2 separate regions of the Homo sapiens genome follow, and region 2 is linked to region 1. The links are contacts of gene promoters, found by promoter capture Hi-C in human tissues and cell types (Jung and others, 2019). All regions are on one chromosome and are shown on one strand. Each heading gives the region's core, a stretch centred on a gene start or on the middle of the fragment in contact. The rest is flanking DNA. Distances are from core to core; before and after follow the strand shown.

Evidence for each region. The method cuts DNA at HindIII sites, captures the fragments that hold promoters and counts their contacts. A contact is called where the count stands out against the background at its distance.
Region 2: a contact is called between a fragment that was not itself captured here and the fragment with the promoter of KLRK1 in region 1, in 1 of the 25 tissues and cell types used here (hippocampus).

What each region holds. Positions count from the first base shown.
Region 1 is chr12:10,386,907-10,392,517 of GRCh38, forward strand. KLRK1 (killer cell lectin like receptor K1) reads right to left here and starts at 3,135. Exons shown (of 8, transcript NM_007360.4): 1 at 3,037-3,135; 2 at 1,865-1,969; 3 at 1-104. The coding sequence starts at 1,904. KLRC4-KLRK1 (KLRC4-KLRK1 readthrough) reads right to left here. Exons shown (of 13, transcript NM_001199805.1): 6 at 4,929-4,985; 7 at 1,865-1,969; 8 at 1-104. The coding sequence starts at 1,904. The region is part of intron 3 of KLRK1-AS1 (KLRK1 antisense RNA 1); the gene reads left to right. The HindIII fragment of the contact is 5,458 bases long and covers 995-5,611 here.
Region 2 is chr12:10,725,459-10,731,069 of GRCh38, forward strand. It overlaps LOC112268104 (a long non-coding RNA gene), which reads right to left. Exons shown (of 4, transcript XR_002957443.2): 3 at 5,560-5,611; 4 at 734-821. Among named protein-coding and RNA genes, the nearest start is that of YBX3, 4.9 kb to the left of the region's middle. The HindIII fragment of the contact is 5,604 bases long and covers 1-5,346 here.

The DNA.
Region 1 (5,611 bases), core at 1,885-4,384:
TTCTCTACATTTGCTTTTGACTACTGGACATCTTTGCTTTTGCCATCGTGTTGAAAAATCACTCTTCTTCAGATCCAAGTTATAATTATGAAATTCACTCATCTCTAGAGAAAAAGAATTCAGGCTTATATGAGTCATGGCCTTTCTGCCATTTGGGGCATAAATTTTAAAAATTCAGCTTGCCATTTCCATCTATGTACTTCCCCTGACTATCCTTTTTAAAGTACAACATGAACTTACTTTTGTTTTATAGTACTACATTATTATGTTTACACTTTACTATATAAATAAAACTATATTTATGCCATGGAAAGTACCCTTAGCAAAATCCTATATACTATTAAAATTAGTTAATTCGTAATGTATAATGAAACCTAACATTACCAGAAAGGGACTTGGTTAGTGAAAAGGCAGATGTAGGGAGAAAGACATGTATTTAAATCACAGATCCACATATACAAACTTGATAACTTCACAAATAACCTAGCTTTTGCATCCCAGTTTTCCTAATTTGCAAAAGACGAAAGAAATAAAAAAGAAAAGGATACTGTCACAATCCAGTATGGGTATTTTAAAAATAAAATAAAAATATAATGAACTTAGCATCAATAACATCAATCATTTAGTAAGCTTTTAGTAAATAGCAGTGTGTCTAATTTTCTTCTTTTCTTTTTTTTTTTTTGAGATGGAGTGCAATGGCGTGATATTGGCTCACTGCAACCGCCGCCTCCTGGGTTCAAGCGGTTCTCCTGCCTCAGCCTCTTGAGTAGCTGGGATTACAGGCTTGTGCCACCATACCTGGCTAATTTTTGTATTTTTAGTACAGACGGGGTTTCACCATATTGGCCAGGCTGGTCTCGAACTCCTGACCACAGGTGATCTACCCACCTCAGCCTCCCAAATTTCTGGGATTATAGGCATGAGCCACTGTGCCCAGCCATCTAATTTTCTTTATAATGAAGGACATACATAGGCTAAAATAGTGGGGTCTAATGATTTAGAACAAAGACAGATAATCTTGCCTCTGAACAAAATACCTAAAGAATCATTTTGCTCTCTTGAAATATTAATTATTTACTGATGATTAATATTTACTTAAAAGCCTTTTTTAAACTTTTATTTTTGGTTCAGGGGTGCATGCGAAGGTTTGTTACATATGTAAATTCATGTCACGGGGGTTTGTTGTACAAAAGCCTTTTATAAATTAAATGATAATATGAATTATATTTTATAGGTAAAATTAGACATTGATTGCGCATGTAATACCTAACTCAGTTATTTTACATATGGAGTAAAGAGAGTAGGTATCACTTTATGGATGAAGAAATTGAATGCTAGAGATGGCCAAAATCATAAAGCTTATTTAATATAATGTTACCAACTGTGAATAAGTTATAAATTTATAAACACCTTTAGGATAAAAAGTGCTTTAACATACATGTCAGTTGATTTGAATATTACACAAATCTAAGATAAATATGGAATGTTTCATGCCTGTATTTGATAGAAAAAGAAACTAAACTAAACTACACAGAGGTTGCAAATTGACCCTTCAAATCTAGAGAGCGGTAAAAGTTTGAGTAAAATTCAAGTCTGACTCCACATCTATTTCACTATTTCAAGCTGTCCCAAGTTGTGAGCGACTTTACCATAATATAGTTAATAAAATAAAGGGAAAAAAGTTTTTAAGTTTTGGAAGACTTGATTTAAAATACAATATGAACATAACATGAAATCAACATAAATAGAACATGAAAAGAATCAGAGTAAATTGCTTGCCTATGCCTTATATGCTTGTATGAAATTCTTGGTATCTTAAAATTGTATAAAAACAAAACTACACACTTATGTGGTAAAAACATACCCCAGCTGTGTCGAGACCTCCGACCACGAATCCACCCCATCAAATACTTATAAGTGCACGTCTACCGCAGAGAGGAATCTAAAGTCTTCAATGCACAAAGGATTCCTGAATAAAATAAAACTGGGCATTTGTTTTTTGTTCTCTTTCCCGTGGTGAGATAAAATATTTTGAATAGAAAAGTAAAATGCAGAAACTTTTCCCCTGTGCATGCCTTTAAGAAAAGAATAGAAATGACAATTCACATAAAGCCAGGCAAAATTAATTTTATACATTTCTCTTGGTTGTAAAATAATCGCCAATTACTTCAAAATGTCATAACAATATAATGAACCTATTAATTCACCTACATTGAGATATTTAATACCAATATTTTACTTTACTGATATTAGATAACAACACACCCAGTTTTCTGTTTATAGTCGTTTATTGCTTCTTGGCCTTTTAGCTAAGATCAAGTGTTTCCAGTTGTTTATTTTATCTGGCAATAATTTAGTTTTCTTTCTGCAAGCTAAACTCAGGTAAGTTATATGCACTTTTGTTGAATGTCCTTTTCTAGTGCATTTTAATCCAACGTGCCCATATCATCATCATCAACAAATTATCATCACCATCATCATTAACAAAACTAATCTCACATGTTTATATAGTAACATCTTAGCAATGCACAGCAGAGCTTCCAGAAAAAACCATTTAATAAATAAGCATAGTGCTTAGATTTCAAAAATAAAAGCTATTTCATATTTGATTATGATAGTTGGAAAGCACAGATATAACTTGTTTCACCTTGCATGTAAAGATGTGTATCAAAGGTAAGTGCCCCCTACAGCATCAGAAAACTCAAAAATTTGACAATTTAAATTGAATCTCAATTCTTCTCATCCTAAATGTAAAGATTCATTTTTCTAGTTTTGCTTAGAGACAAGGCTTCTTCTTATAGTAATATTACAACTTCTGATTCTTCAATAAGTATATCCTAATTACCTATCATCAGATACAGTGATAGAATATACATCAGAAATGATAAGCATTCCGTATCCTCAGGAGTTCTATTCAAGCATCTAAGAAACAATTAGAATTACCTTATAGTGTAAATATTTTTATTTTTTTGAGGTTGAAATATAATTTCTCATATCTTGAATAATAAACACACACACATACACACATACACACACCTGCTCAGAGAGGGAAGATCTTGATTCTTGTGGATAAAAGCCTTCTATAAAACTAGAAAATTTAGATATGTCCTCAGTTCCTGATCTAGAATTGAAAGTGGAGATACTTAGTGAATTTCTATCTTTGAGAAAGATGTGACAAATATTATAATCTCATCTTCCTGTGGAAAAACATAAACCACAGTACTTCCGCCTTATCACTACAAAAATATTGTTAATTTGGTAAAAGAGTTAAGACCACCCATTGTTGGATAAATGTTAGGTTGGTGCAAAAGTAATTGTAGTTTTGCCATTATTTTAAATAACATTTTAGGATTTGAAAATGATGAATTTAAATGATGCCATTTAATCCTAAATATTTTAGAGATTCAATTCAATTCCAGTTAATACCTCAGGTTTTGTTGTAGAACTTACAAAGCAGAATTCTACATGTACATTAAATTACAAAAGTCAAGACTAGGAAAGTCACAATTGAAGATGAAGAAAATGTGGGAGCCTTGTTTTACTAGATAGTAAGACCTATGTTAAAACCGTATTAATAAAGGCAAAGTGGCATGTGGGGCATAGATAGACAAATTGAGAAGGGTAAAAATACAGACAAGAAAAAGTCATGTGCATAGATTAAAAAATATAAGGTAACATTGCAGATAAAGTGGGAAATTAGCTCCTATTCAATAATTTGTCCTGGGTTACTATCACACTGGCCTTTAAGTTACAAAAAATTAGTCCTGGGAATTTTTAAATTTTAATATAAAAAACATGAAATTGCATCTCTGTCATATCTACATCATATGCAGGAGAATTAGAAACTTAAATATATACCCCAGTATACATAAGAATAATATATGAATTGATACCAATGAACAAGATAAGCTAAATATATATTTTATGTTTATTAATTTAAAATACTAACATAAGACATCATATAAAGTAATATAAGATGAACACATTATAACATTTTAACAAAAACCAAAGCTATTAATCTTAAAACTCTGAAATATAAGGAAGGAAAACAGCTTTCATGTGGTGATGTGTTAAAGTTGGACAATAAATTTATTCAACATTTTTTTTCTTTAGCGAATGCTATTTGCTATGCACTTTTCTAGATCTTGAGAATGTCAAAGTAAACAATCCAAAAGAAAGTTTTTGCCCACATGGAAATTAATTACTTTTTTTTTTTTTTTTTTTAAGAGATGGAGTTTCACTCTTGTTGTCCAGGCTGGAGTGCAACGGGGCGATCTCGGCTCACTGCAACCTCCGCCACCTGGGTTCAAGCAATTCTCCTGTCTCAGCCTCCAGAATAACTGGGATTACAGGCATGTGCCACCACACCTGGCTAATTTTTGTATTTCTAGTAGAGACGAGGTTTCACCATGTTAGTCAGGCTGGTCTCGAACTCCTGACCTCAGGTGATCCTCCTGCCTCAGCCTCCCAATGTGCTGAGATTACAGACGTGAGCCACCACACCCAGCTGGAAATTACTTTTTAGTTTAGGTGATATAAAATGAATAAGTATAAAACAAATTCAAAATTAAACAAGATAGGTGAATATAAAACAAGTTGAAGAAAATATGTTATTTTCTGACATACCAAGATTCTTTTCAGCTAATCAACATTTTCTATTAGCTATTTTATATAGTAAAAATAGATCTATATAGAGGAAATATAGGCTGATATTTTCTAACAACTACATTTTAACAAATATTTGGTTTTTGAAAGGAAATGAATAAATGAGTAAATGCAGGCTTTTTATGGGAAAAACCTGAATCACAATTTCCTGAAGAGTTATTTTTATATATGTAGTTTTCGATTGAATAGAGATTGTCTCTTAAATACAGAATTGAGAAAAGGGGGATAGGAATAGGATAAAAAAGAACATTTGAATATCCTACCTATTTCGTTTAGTTCAAATGGCAACTTACAGCCAACTGGGAAGTCCCCACACATACCTAAAAGAAGATTTCTGAAATAAATACCATGATAAAGCTAAGCACCAGGGAGAGTTTTATTGTCATATATAAAGGTCCCTAAACCAACTGACAGAGTGTGGAAAGGATTCTTAAAGAAGAAAATTCTAAAATGGGTCCTGTATGTCGGGTTAAAACAATTAGTTAGATAAAGAAATAGTATGTTAAAACTCCAATTTCTTTCTCAATGTTGAACATACACTCACTTTGCTGTAGTCATGATAGTAAACTTATTGGGGATTTGCTGGGCATTTGTACTGGTTTATTCTATGTGAATTGCAAAAGGACATAGCATAGTTTTCAGATAAAATACTTTCTAATAAGTGAAATAAAACCAACGCAATTAACTTCTGCAGAAAGAATAATTTGACTATAAAAGTACCTGAACAAACTTCATATAGACGTATCTATATAACTTTCAAAAACTATTGTTAGAAGAAAAATTACAATATTTTGCAAACAGCCTGGGCTCAAGTCATTTGAGAACATCCATCACCACAATAAACTATTTAATTACTTTCATTAGTTGAGAAGAGCCAACAATCAACCGGCCTTTTTGGTCAGTAAGCTAACTCGCACTGTGGCCTCAGAAAACCCTTCTCTTCTGG
Region 2 (5,611 bases), core at 1,295-3,794, 340 kb after region 1:
GAGTATCCAATGTTGACCAAAATGGAGCCGGTTGTAAGGTCTTTTGATATGATGTTAAAATTATTTTTCACTATCAACATTTCTATTGTAAGACAATATCATCATTTACTAAGTTTAAGAGTAAGTCAACAAAGAATTATAATCTAATTGCTGACAGCAGTCATTTTTAAGCAATTATTGGTTTGATCATAAAAACAAATGCCACTCTGTTCCTAGTATGGAGGAAGTTAAAGCTCTCACAACTGTTGGAAGGGCTGAAGGAGGGAAACTCAGAGAAGCTCCACTGAAGATCTCAGCCTCCAGTCCCCAAGACAGTGGTTCTCAGGAGTTCTCCTGAAGCCACTGGAGCCACAAGATCTTTCGGAAGTTCTCAGCAATTCAGGGCTGGATTCAGGTTTTGTGATGCTTAAAACTAATACAATTTAGAGAGCCCTTTTTGAGATAAAATAAAGTTATGAATACTAAAATGCTAGGACTGCTCCCAGAGTCTTCGAAAGGGTCCGTGCAAGACAGGAGCCCTGAAATTTAAACTTCATTAGCTTTACTCCTGCACCTGCTATCTCAGTCAGCAACACCGATGCAGTAAGTCCTCAAGAAGTTCATCTGGAAGCAGCTTTGATGCCGATGCATCTTTCTATAACTGACTCTGGTATATAATGGTCTTCTCTTCTTCCTTCTAAACTTTGAGCGAAAGGCTCTCATTGTTAGATTCCAACTTGGAAATATACAGGCCGGGAGGGAGATTCTGGGAAATGTAGTCTCTGCATTTGAAGAAGCTAAAGTTGATGCTAAATTGACAGGAGGCTATCCAGCATATCACCCTAAGGAAGAAAATGCAATTAATTGACTAAGGAGATTGAGGAGAATTCAAGTTATTCAAGGGACTGGAGCTTAAAATAAGGAAGCTTTGTGTATTAGCATATTTGAAACTGGAAAACAGTGAAGTATTAATCTCAACTTAATTGATACAAAAAAGAACATGAGGGAAATGGTCAGTTTGGAACAAAAAAGTGCAAGAATAAGAGAGTAAAGGTATTTCAGGATGTCTCCAGCAATGTTCAGGGGGAGAGTGGACCTTGGTTATCACGCTCTGTTTGGCACTCAGTAGTAATGCATTCAGCACATTTATTAATCATTGCAATTTGGTGCTAAGAACATCATGCAAAACAGGCAGGAATGCCCCTGTATTGAATGAATTAATGGTATAGACCCATACTGTCCCATTGGAAATATAATTTGAGCCCCAAATGTGAACCAAATATTTAATTTTAAATTTTCAAGCAGCCACAATAAAACAGTAAAAAACAGATGAAATTAATTTTAATAGATTTTACCTAACTTAATCAATATAAAATATATATTATTTCCACATTTAATCAAGGGTAAAACCATGAATGATGTATTCTACATTCCTCTTTTTTTTTTTTTTTGGTACTATCTTCAAAGTGTGTATCTTACACTTCTAAGACATCTCAATTTGAACTCACATTTAAAGAGTTCGGTGTGGCTGATGACTACCATATTGAGTAGCACAAGCCTTCTAGACAATTAGAAGTTTAACCTGAATAATTCTTCAGGATTCCATTGGGAAAAAGTCCTGGGCCTGAAAGCTGGACCATACATCAGTCTGTGGCTACCCAGCAAGATAATGCTACCTGTTGGGCTGGTTTGAGCTTCCTTTGTGACATATAATATCCAAAGAATTTACATGAACCATAATGCCATAATTCTGAATAACTCTATAATGATGTCACTGATGATCTCTAGGGCATGTAAACAAAGTGAATTTACAATATCCATTCCCTGTCACCACTGCCTTTATGGACTATGCTTCTTCTTTAACTTTCACATATATTGGCCTACCATAATGAAGATGTATTATAGGATTTCTTCCTTTTCATTAAGAGAACTGAGAATATGGTGGGGAATTGGCTGTGACTTTACTCTCCCCTATGGGAAGCTGGATTTAGAGTTCAGAAAATGTTGCACCTCTAGACCTGAAATTATTAAGCAGGAGGAAAAAAAAAAACAAGCGATTACTGAGAAGTTTTGAAAAACCTGATTATTTCAGCATATATTGATTTTATATAAAAGTTCCAGCTTCTAAGTGACTTTGTTGCATTTGTTTTGCTTCTACTTATTTTCTTAACTATTTAGATGTGTTCTTAGTGTTTAAAGACTAGGAGATTGGTACAGTTTTGGTGGAAGAACTTGACAAGATTATCTGATAAGTAAGAACTAGAAAGAAATGTATCCATCTCAACCCCACTCATTTTAAAAACAAGGAATTGCAGTTCAGAGATTAACTGACTTTCTCGAACTAATTTATGTATTTAGTGGCAAAGCTAGAACCAAAACCTGAGTCTCCTTATACCCAATTCAGCGCCCTTGCCACCATAAAATTCTGATTGACAAAATGTCAATGCTGTAGCATTGAGTCCCCTCAAAAATAAAGCAAGGCAGCACTTTGGGAGGCCGAGGCGGGTGGGTCACTTGAGCCCAGGAGTTCAGGACCAGCCTGGACAGCATAGCAAAACCCCGTCTCTACAACAAACAAACAAAACAAAAACCAGCAAAAATTAGCTGTGCTGGACATGGTGGTGCATGCCTGTAGTCCCAGCTACTCAGGGCTACTCAGGAGGCTGAGGTGGGAGGATCACTTGAGCCCGGGAGGTCGAGGCTGCAGTGAACCATGATCATGCCACTGTGCTCTAGCCTGGGTGACAGAGTGAGATCCTGTCTTAAGAAAAGAAATAAAGCAAGGCTCTCTGGCCACTGAAGGTAATGTTCAGATCTTTCCAATTAGGACCTCTGGAGAGGAAACCAAACAGCTGTGTGCAATTTTATTTTACAGCATTTTGGAACGTTCTGAAACAATGAATAAAATATATTCTCTTCTTCCTAAAAAAGCTTTATTCTGTCTCTTTTTGCACATACTATTTTTTCTCTTTTTTTCTGTTTTAATCTGCTTTCTTTATTCTTTTAACTTTCTTTGTCACCTCCCTTTATGTCCTCACTTGTTTAGGAATTAAATCTCAGAGAATGTCAAGTCTAGATTCTTGTCTAGAAGATATAGTGTCTTTTATTTCTTGGTAGATATCATAATTCTTAAAAATGCACTCTCAAACAGCAAACAAAGAGGAAAAGGGACTCTCAAACAGCAAACAGAGAGGAAAATCATCCAATGTGTCTCTTCTTCAGTTTTCAAAGAATTTTTCAAAATTCTTCCTTCTCTTCTCTTTGAATTGAACTCTTCCTTTTAGTCAGACTTTCATTTGATCTCTATTAGCATCCCTAGTGGCTCACCGTAATGATCTATTTAAATACTCATCTTTTGGAGACATCTGTTTAATTGGATTTTGATGTTCCTTTAACATGGGAACTTTGGAGTAGAAATTGAGAATGAGAAAATTTGGGAGAAAGAAAACTGGTTCCTAAGAAAATTCCAAGAGAGAAAGATTTGTTAAAATTCCATCCAAGTTTTAACTTCCAAATGATAAGGTAATTATATATATATATATATATATATATATATATATATATATGTTCAAAAAAATGCATGTGCACATGCACACACACACACACAGACGACCACAAAATAGTAGTATTTGCTAATGTATATCTGAATATGTATTTATTTTGACATTATGGACTAAATATAAACAAGAAGTATAATATCTGCTTCTTTCAAGGGTTTAGATCTCCAGAAATTTTACTGTACTGTGAGCAAAATATTTCTAGTTTTTTATTTTCTTTTATTTTGCTTTTGCCAAATCCCTTGCATCCATCACTGTTGGTCTTTTCGTAAGCGTGGCATGGTAGGGAGCAGAATTTTAGCAAAAACGAGTATTATGATGGGATAACTATTTGTTTGGGGTGCTATAGAAAAATACCTTAGACTGGGTACTTTCTAAACAACAGAAATGCATTGCTTAAAGTTTTGGAGGCTGGGAAGTTGCAGATCAAGGCACCAGCAGGTTTGGTGTCTGGTGAAGGCCTGTTCTTCATAGATGTTGCCTTCAGTGGGTCCTTACATGGTGGAAGGACAAAAAGGCTAACAAGCTCCCTTGGGTCTCTTTTGGGTGCCAATCCTATTGGTGAGGTCCTGTGCTCATGACCTAAATGCCCCCAAAAGGTCCCATCTCCTAATGCCATCGCTTTGGTGATTAGGCTTCAACATATGAATTGTGGAGAGACACAAACATTCAGACCATGGAACCTATGTCTTTACTAGCATGTATTTTACTACCATTTCCATTTATAGATCAGCTTGCTGCAAATTTCCAGAAACACATCAACCTAATGATATTTTACTTTAAATCATAAAATATAGTTTTAAAATAGTTTTAGTAAAATAATTTTTATTCTATTGTATTCTTTTTTTGCAACCTGCAGTGATTTGCAACATTAACTCTCAAGCCAGCTTTTTCTTCTCTTTGACTTTTTATTAAATTTAAGATGAAAAAGAGTAATCAATAATAGAATGGTTTTATTAATAAAGACAGATCAATTTTACAGTTTTTCAAGATAAATGTTTTAGAGTTTGAAGCTATACTACTCTAGAAGTACCCACAGTGAAATTTTACATGGAAAATTAAGAAACAAAACTAGGAGTCTTGAAATATCAAAGGGATAAACTTAAATTCAGGTAGGTTAATTTGTAAAAACAAGATTGCAAGGATCAGCTGGAATGGTTTGGTTTGTTTTCTGAGGGGGTTACTTTTTTTGTTGTTGGTGAGTTGAGTGATGATTTATATATATATATATATTATTATTATTTTGGGGGCCATCCTAAAAAAAACGCACTAAGCTAAAAACCTGTATGTTAGAATAGAAGACAATATTAAAAAGTATGTTCCAGTAAAGACACGTACTGTTTGGCTATGGCTACTCCCATTCTCCTGTATGTCAATTTCATGAATTTCTATTCAAATTCAGGATTCATAACCTATAACTACCATGAAATATAAAATATTTCCCCAAAGTATGGAACCTGATGTCTAAAAGGACCCATTAGGCATACTGGGGCCTAAGAAAATAAAAGAATGCCATTTTATTTGAATTGCACTGATGTGTATAACTAGCTATTTTAATGTATCTAATAAGTGTAAAACAGAAGAACAGAAGTTAAATTGTACCAAGAAGGAACTTGGTTTGGTAGCATCAAAATGTGAGAGGGTGAGAAATTCCATCATGTGACAAAATGACTTTGAGGTATCCCTTTGAGGTAGCTACAATCTTTGTGGGCAGGGAGTTGATTAATGGTTGGATGTAGTCTGGGCTGTCTGTGAAAAGGCCATTAAAATATACTCAATTAGGACTTGACTGTCCAGATTTGACAGGAGTAGGAATCTGCTATGGAGGGTTATCCACACTCCACTGCATCACTCAACTCTTCTTTATAGATTAGGAAATAAGATTCACTATGAAGGCTCAGCAGGTATAACTGGGCACACCTTATTCTTGGTTTCCAATCTCAGTGTATTCTGGTCCTTCAAGATTAGTTGGCACTTTCCTGACCTTTATTATGGCTGGAACTCTTAAGCAAGCCGTACATACCTGCAGAAATAGGCCACAGTGCTGTTTGAGTTAGAAGTCTGTCGAGAAAAAG